Linked DNA regions of Homo sapiens: region 1 is linked to region 2. The links are contacts of gene promoters, found by promoter capture Hi-C in blood cells and fetal thymus (Javierre and others, 2016). All regions are on one chromosome and are shown on one strand. The core of a region is centred on a gene start or on the middle of the fragment in contact, and the rest is flanking DNA. Distances in the headings are between cores, read along the strand shown. Region 1 overlaps DCTN6-DT (DCTN6 divergent transcript). Region 2 holds the start of PURG (purine rich element binding protein G).

Region 1 (3,609 bases), core at 322-2,821, 880 kb after region 2:
CCGAATGCCCAGGATGAGACACCTTCTGAGTCGCCACCATTGGCGACCAGGAACAGGTTCCACCCCTACGGAAAGCTGAGAAAAGGCTTTTCTCAAGCAGCAAACCCACCTCTTTTGAGTCTTCTCCGCCATGGTACGGCCCCAATTGGAACGTAGATCGACACCACCGCCTGGGTAGAGCGATAATTCCACATGCGATTGGAGAGCCTGGCAGGGTTGGGGGAGGGGCGGAGCCGGGGTGGGGCGGGGACCCGGAAGCTTGCGACTCTTGTTTGCGTCGCGTCTGGGCGCACAGGACTGTACTTTTGGTAGCGGTGCGGGGCCGCCCGCGGACTTTAGCCCTGCATAGAGATGGGTAGACCCTAATTTGGAACAGCCATTGACTGGGCACAGGCCAGCACTTTGGGAGGCCGAGAGGCCGAGGCAGGAGGATCGCTTGAGGCCAGGAGTGCCAGACTGCGAGACTAGCCTGGGTAACATAGTGAGACCCTCTCTTCAAAAAAAAAAAAAAAAAAAAAAAAAAAAAGCCTGTCACGGTGGCCTGCGCCTGTACCCCAGCTACTCGAGAGGATCGCCTGAGCCCAGTGAAGCTGCAGCGAGCTGTGAGGATGCCACCGCACTCCGGCCTGGGCTAAAAAGCTAGATCGTGTCTCTGATAAAAGAATAAAAGCTGTTTATTGCAATCCAGTCCGCGTCATTATGCCCTCATTTTACCCACTCGCGTAGGCGTAATTACACCCTAAAGGTATTTCTCTGACCTCGCCGATGTCCTTTTCAGCCTGTCTTTCTCTACTCATTAGGGCTCCTTCTGGCCCTTTTCTCGCTCTATATGAGTGCATCCTTCCTATAGGTTAAGTGCCCTCTACCTGTTTGCTCTCTAATGAATGTCTCTGGTTCTGCCCTCTGTGCCGATCTTCACACCTGACATTCGGTTGACTAATTGACATCTCCGCTCAGAGTCGTATCGAACCTAAAACTTACAGAACATGACTTTCGATTAACACTGCCGTCCTCCCTGCAACCTGCTGCTTTTTTGATCCACACCATTTGCCTAGCTGCTCAAGCCAGACACTCAAGAGTCACCCTGGCACTCCTCACCCCTACATCTGTAATAGATCTGCAAGTTCTGCTTGTCCTACCTCGGGTCTCATGCTTACACTTTTGTCTACCGGACCATCTCTCTAATCTCAGCCGATGTGTCTCTCCCAGTTGTTCACTCATTCTGTACTTGGCCTCTGAAATCACACCTCCTCATCTCCCACCCCCAACCCTGATCCAAGTAGTTCTCTTGTAGTCAAAATCATCCTTTAAAAGACAAATTGAGGCCAGGCGCGTGGCTCAAACCGGTAATCCCAGCACTTTGGGGGGCCGAGATGGGAGGATCGCTTGAGGCCAGGAGTTGGAGACCAGCCTGGTCAACACAGCATGATCCCGTCTCTATATATTTTTTCTATAATGTATTTTTTTAATGGAAAAAAATTAAAAATAAGAGCCAAATTCAGTTATTTCCCCTTCCTCTTAAAATCTAAAATCCAAACTGCTTTCCATAACCTATCTCTGAGCTACATCCAGCCCCTGCCTACTTCTCTCTTTCTCTTTCTATGTGTTCGATCACACCCTCATTCTCCAAAAAAGCAAAGCTGACTCTCCACCCCCAACCGCTTCCACTTGCCCCCACCCTAACACCTTCTGACCCTTTATGTCTCGGATGTCACATACTCAGTTTCCAACCAGAGAAACAGAACTAGTAGTAGATGGATATCAAAAGGCTTATTGTAAGGAATTGGCTTACATGATTGTGGAGCCCCAGCTAAGCAAGTCCAAAATCTGTACACTAAGCTGGAACTCTCATGCAAGGGGTGAGGCTGTTGTTCACAGGAGGAATTTCTTCAGGGAAGCCCATCTCAGCTCTTATGGCCTTCAACTGATTGAATCAGGCCCACCCAGATTAGCTAGGATAATCTCTCTTCCTTAAAGTGAACTGATGATGGGCTTTAATCACATCCACAAAAATACCTTTACAGCAGCATCTAGATTAGTGTTTGACTAATGACTTGGGAATGTAGCCTAACCAAGTTGACACAAAAAACTGACCATCACACTCAGGGAAACCCTCCTTGACTGTCTTAGTTCTTTCTGGCTGCTATAACAAAATACAGTTGGCCCTTTGTATCTGTGGGTTTGACATCTGTGACTGGTTGACAGCAACCCACGTTGGATCAAAAATTTGGGGGAAAAAATTACGCAAGTTTCCAAAAAGCAAAACTTGAATTTGCTGCATGCCAAGTGCTACATTGAAGCCACATGAATGAAGTGATATGTAGGAATTGTATTAGATATTCTGAATAATATAAAGATGATTGAAAGGATATGGGAGGATATGCATCAGTTAGTTATATGCAAATACTACACCATTTTATATCAGGGGCTTGAGCATCTGCAGATTTTGGCATCAGGGTGTCCAGGAACCAGTTCCCCAAGCATACTGAGGGACAGTTATACCTTAGACTGGGTATAGTAGTCCTTTCTTATCCTCGGGGGATACATTCCAAGACCTCTAGTGGATGCCTGAAACCACAGATAATACTGAACCCTCTATATACTATGCACACATTTCCTTTTCCTCATTAACAGTTTCATGGGTAAAAGATTTATTCTTACCATAGATCTTAGCAACCTCAGCATATAGTTTTTTTTCTTTCCTTTTGAAATCAAGAAGTTTTCACATTTTCACTTAAAGCATTTTACAGTTTCTCTTTGGCAGATCCAAATCACCTGCATCGCTACTTTTGTGCTTTGGGGCCATTATGAAGTAAAATAAGAGTGACTTGAACACAAGTACTCTGATACTGCAACAATGTATCTGATAACTGAGAAAGCTTTAATGGGCAGGTAGTACCAACAGTGTGGATACAAAGGGATGATTCATGTTCTTGCCTAGAGAGAGCAGCATGGTACGAGAGTTCATCATGCTACTCAAAATGGTGTGCAATTTAAAACTCACAAATTGTTTATTTCTGGAATTTTCTATTTAATATTTTTGGACTGATGTTGACTACAGGTTACTGAAACCACAGAAGATGAAACCATGGATAAGTGCGACTACTGTTATTTATAAACAAAGACATTTATTGCTCACAGTCCTAGAGGCTGGGGAGTCCAAGATCAAAGCGCTGGACATTCTGTGTCTGATGAGAGCCCTCATCACCTAATCACCTCCCAAATGTCCCACCTCTTAATTGCCAAGTAGTCAATAAAATATCAGATGTGAGGCTCGGCAGAGAGGACAGAACCTTGAAGGTATTATTTCAACATATGAATTCTGGAGGGACAAAAACATTCAGACCATAGCACCATCTAATCAAAAATAGGCTACCCTTCCTATTCTAATTATTTTCTCTGTGGGGTAAGGATTGCACTCATCACCAGCTATACTTACTTATCTTACCATTTCCTCCAAAGACTTAAGTTCCATGAAGTTAGAGCCATGTGAGTTTTGTTCCCACTCTTTACTCAGCACCAACCACAGTGCCTGGTGCATGGTTGATATTCCTCTAAACTTGTTGAATAAGTATATGAATGAATTTAGAGTGTTTTGTCACTGCCAAC
Region 2 (3,568 bases), core at 319-2,818:
TATGGGCTCTAGACTGGAACCAAGAAGCCATAAAATGCCATATGCTGGACACGATAACTCATACCCTATGAGTTACAGTGTACAGCCAATCACTAAGCAATGGTATCTCTGTAAACCAATAACAATTCCTGACCAACTTTGTCTCAGCCCACTCTTCCCCTTCGCCTTTAAAAACCTGCTTGTAACCAAGGCTGAAGGAGCACTCCCCAAGGCAACTGGGAAATGAGTCCTGGGCAGCTGTCCTCATTTTGGCTGAAGTAAACACTTTAAATTATAATTTTGTGCCCCAGCCTCTTCCTTTTAGGTAGACACCACTATTCAATGACATCAAGATCTGAACTGTCCTACTTATCCCAATATCCCACCCCTAAAAAGAAATGTACCGAACCATAAAAAGCCTGAAGTACTCCGACTTACAGACTCCTGTATTAGCATCCTAAGAATTATATTACCCTCTTCAATAGGGAGTAGTATTTTTCATATCAAACCTAGCCTGAGAACAACTGAGATTCAACTAGGAAAAAAAGAAAAGAAAATCCATTAAAGACTGAGTGATTTGAACTCAAAAATATCCATCATCACTTGCTAAATCATAGACAGCAGGTTATTTCCCTCGACTTTGCTGTGCAGACCTGTAGTGGCTCAATTTCTGCCATAATAAAGGCCGTACTAGAAAGAGCAATCCTAACTAAGCGCGCAAGGTAAACATCAAGCTGGGGCCGTCAGGGGCGGGGAAACACTTTCTGAATGGCGGAAGCTCCGAGAGACGCCTTTCCCAGCTGCTCCAGAGGGGAAAGGAAAAGGGAGAAAGTCTGTTTTTCCAGAATCTCCCAAACACAGCCCAGGGGCCTGCTCCGCGGGCCTAAGCGCCTCCACGTGTCTCAGAAGCCTAGCACTATAGATACCCCGGGGCACGGAGCTGGGAAAACGGGAATAGGAAGACACTTTACCCCGAGAAGATCCAGTCCAACAGGTCTTCTTCAGCCGGATGACTGTGGAGCGCCACCACAAGCAGGGCCTGCAACCCAGGCATCCAGGCTAGACACCAAATCAGCAAACTTTATTCCCGCGCTGCCGAGTACAAGCCGGCGCCTCCCCGGCGCACACAGTACACATCAGCTCCGGGAGACCTACCCGACCCGCCCCTCCAGCGCCGTCCCCGCCCCCGTTCCTGCCCCACCCCTTTCCCCGCCCCCGGCCCGGCTCGCCTTTCTCGCGGCGCTGCAACCCTCCCACCACAGCCCATCCAGCCCCGCCCAGCGCGCCGCGGTGCGCATGCGTGGAGGCCCTCGCTGCCGCTGAGCACCTCGGGAAGTGTAGTCTCTTCGCAGGTGCGGCTGGGCAGCTAGAGTCCTGCATCCCGGTGGAATCCGGAGAAGTGAGAACATTCCCGCCGCCCGGTCCTCATTCCCATCTTCCCACCTGTCCAGTCCCCTCGCACTCCCGCTGCACCCCACGCGCCGGGCTTCAGTCAGAGAGTGCACTGAGGAAGAGCGGAGACCCCCTCTTCCCCTCAGCAGGCTGTGCCGGGGGAGGCGGGGTCCACCGCCCGCCCCCCGCCGTCGCTCTCCCCGCCTCCCCTTCCCTCCCCTCCTGGCGGGTGCGGGGCCGGTGTCCGAAGTCAGGCGGCGGCCCCCGCAGCGGCCGCAGGAGGGGCGGCTGCGGTGGGCGCCGCGGGCGATGCCCCTGCCCGGCTGCTCCGGCGGGGGGCAGTGCGAGCGGCGGCGGCGGGGGAGGAGGCGGGGGGCGGCGGCTGCGGCGGCTGCAGCAGAGGGGCCGAGAGCTGGCGGTGGCGGCGGCGGTGGTCGTGAAGGGCATCGGCGGCGGCGGTGATGGCAGAGATGATGTGAGTGCCCGCCGGCTGGAGACCTGGGGCCGCGGAGCGCGGGACGGGCGGCGGCGGCGTGCGGGAGCGGCCCCGGGGGCGGCGGAGGGATGCGGGGAGCGCGGGCAGAGCCGGAGCGGCGGCCGCCAACCGGCCGGCAGTGGCTGGAGCCCCGCGCTGCGGCGCCGGGGGAGCCGGGCCCGGCGTGGGGGTCGCGGGCGGCGGCGGGGCGGTCAGGCCGAGGGGCGTCTGCGATTGTTCTCAACACCCCTCCCCCACCCCATCCCGTGTGTCTGTTTGTTACTTGCAGCTGAAGATGGAAAGAGCCAGGCGAAGGGGAGGCGGCGGCGGCCGCGGCCGCGGAGGCAAGAATGTAGGGGGCTCTGGCCTAAGCAAGAGTAGACTCTATCCCCAGGCCCAGCACTCCCACTACCCCCACTACGCGGCCTCAGCCACCCCTAATCAGGCCGGGGGCGCAGCCGAAATCCAGGAGCTGGCCTCCAAACGAGTGGACATCCAGAAAAAGAGGTTTTACCTAGACGTGAAGCAAAGCTCCCGGGGCCGCTTCCTAAAGATAGCCGAAGTCTGGATAGGGAGAGGCCGGCAGGACAACATCAGAAAGAGTAAACTGACCCTCTCCCTGTCTGTGGCAGCGGAGCTGAAGGACTGTCTAGGGGACTTCATCGAGCACTATGCCCACCTGGGCCTGAAAGGCCACCGGCAAGAGCATGGCCACAGCAAAGAGCAAGGCTCCAGAAGGAGGCAGAAGCACTCGGCACCCTCCCCACCAGTCTCGGTGGGGTCCGAAGAGCATCCTCACAGTGTCCTGAAAACAGACTATATCGAGAGGGACAATAGGAAATATTACCTAGACCTAAAGGAAAATCAGCGGGGTCGCTTCCTACGGATTAGACAAACCATGATGCGGGGGACTGGCATGATAGGTTATTTTGGCCACAGTTTGGGCCAAGAACAGACTATTGTCCTCCCAGCACAAGGAATGATTGAGTTTCGTGATGCCTTGGTTCAGCTGATTGAAGACTATGGCGAAGGAGACATAGAAGAACGAAGAGGTGGAGACGATGACCCGCTTGAACTCCCAGAGGGGACTTCTTTCAGAGTGGACAATAAAAGGTTCTACTTTGATGTGGGCTCTAATAAATATGGAATTTTCCTGAAGGTAAGTGAGGTGAGACCACCTTACCGTAATACTATTACTGTTCCATTCAAAGCTTGGACAAGGTTTGGGGAGAATTTTATCAAGTATGAAGAAGAGATGAGGAAAATTTGCAACAGCCATAAAGAAAAGAGAATGGATGGCAGAAAGGCCAGTGGTGAAGAACAAGAATGCCTCGACTAGAGTGAAATTGAACTCCATCAGGCAAAATTTAAAATCACAAATTGGCTAAAAGTACTGATCCATTATCCTTTGAAGAAGTTTTTCCTCTTTTTTGGCCCGTTGTTATTAGTAATACCTCTAGTAGTTGATACTTCAGGAAGTCTGATTCTCATGTTATGTTACACATAGATCACTATAATTCTTACGGGAATTCCAACCTTCCCAGAGCTAAATAGTTTAGCTGCTTCAACTGCTCCAGACTATTGAAGTATGCAAATCAGCACAAAATGTGACATTCTGACATTCTAAATACCATAACTAAGATTTACATTGCACTATGACATAATCCCGAAAAAAGATACATATACTTAAATAGAAGTGTGACTTTCCCCCAAAAGTATTTC

The links. Contacts are between HindIII fragments. The CHiCAGO score rates a contact against its expected background, and 5 or more counts as called.
Region 1: a contact is called between a fragment that was not itself captured here and the fragment with the promoter of PURG in region 2, in 1 of 17 cell types (fetal thymus). The highest score is 5.8, in fetal thymus.

What each region holds. Positions count from the first base shown.
Region 1 is chr8:30,152,907-30,156,515 of GRCh38, reverse strand. It overlaps DCTN6-DT (DCTN6 divergent transcript), which reads left to right. Exons shown (of 1, transcript NR_186490.1): 1 at 1-687. DCTN6 (dynactin subunit 6) reads right to left here and starts at 147. Exons shown (of 7, transcript NM_006571.4): 1 at 110-147. The coding sequence starts at 132. RefSeq lists enhancers at 1-96, 40-1,022, 847-1,056. The HindIII fragment of the contact is 2,621 bases long and covers 261-2,881 here.
Region 2 is chr8:31,031,356-31,034,923 of GRCh38, reverse strand. PURG (purine rich element binding protein G) reads left to right here and starts at 1,568. Exons shown (of 2, transcript NM_001323311.2): 1 at 1,568-1,846; 2 at 2,136-3,568. The coding sequence starts at 2,142. The coding sequence ends at 3,185. It overlaps WRN (WRN RecQ like helicase), which reads right to left and starts at 1,114. Exons shown (of 35, transcript NM_000553.6): 1 at 951-1,114. RefSeq lists enhancers at 1-6, 840-1,361 and silencers at 77-146, 1,117-1,376, 1,537-1,586. The HindIII fragment of the contact is 5,494 bases long and covers 1-3,059 here.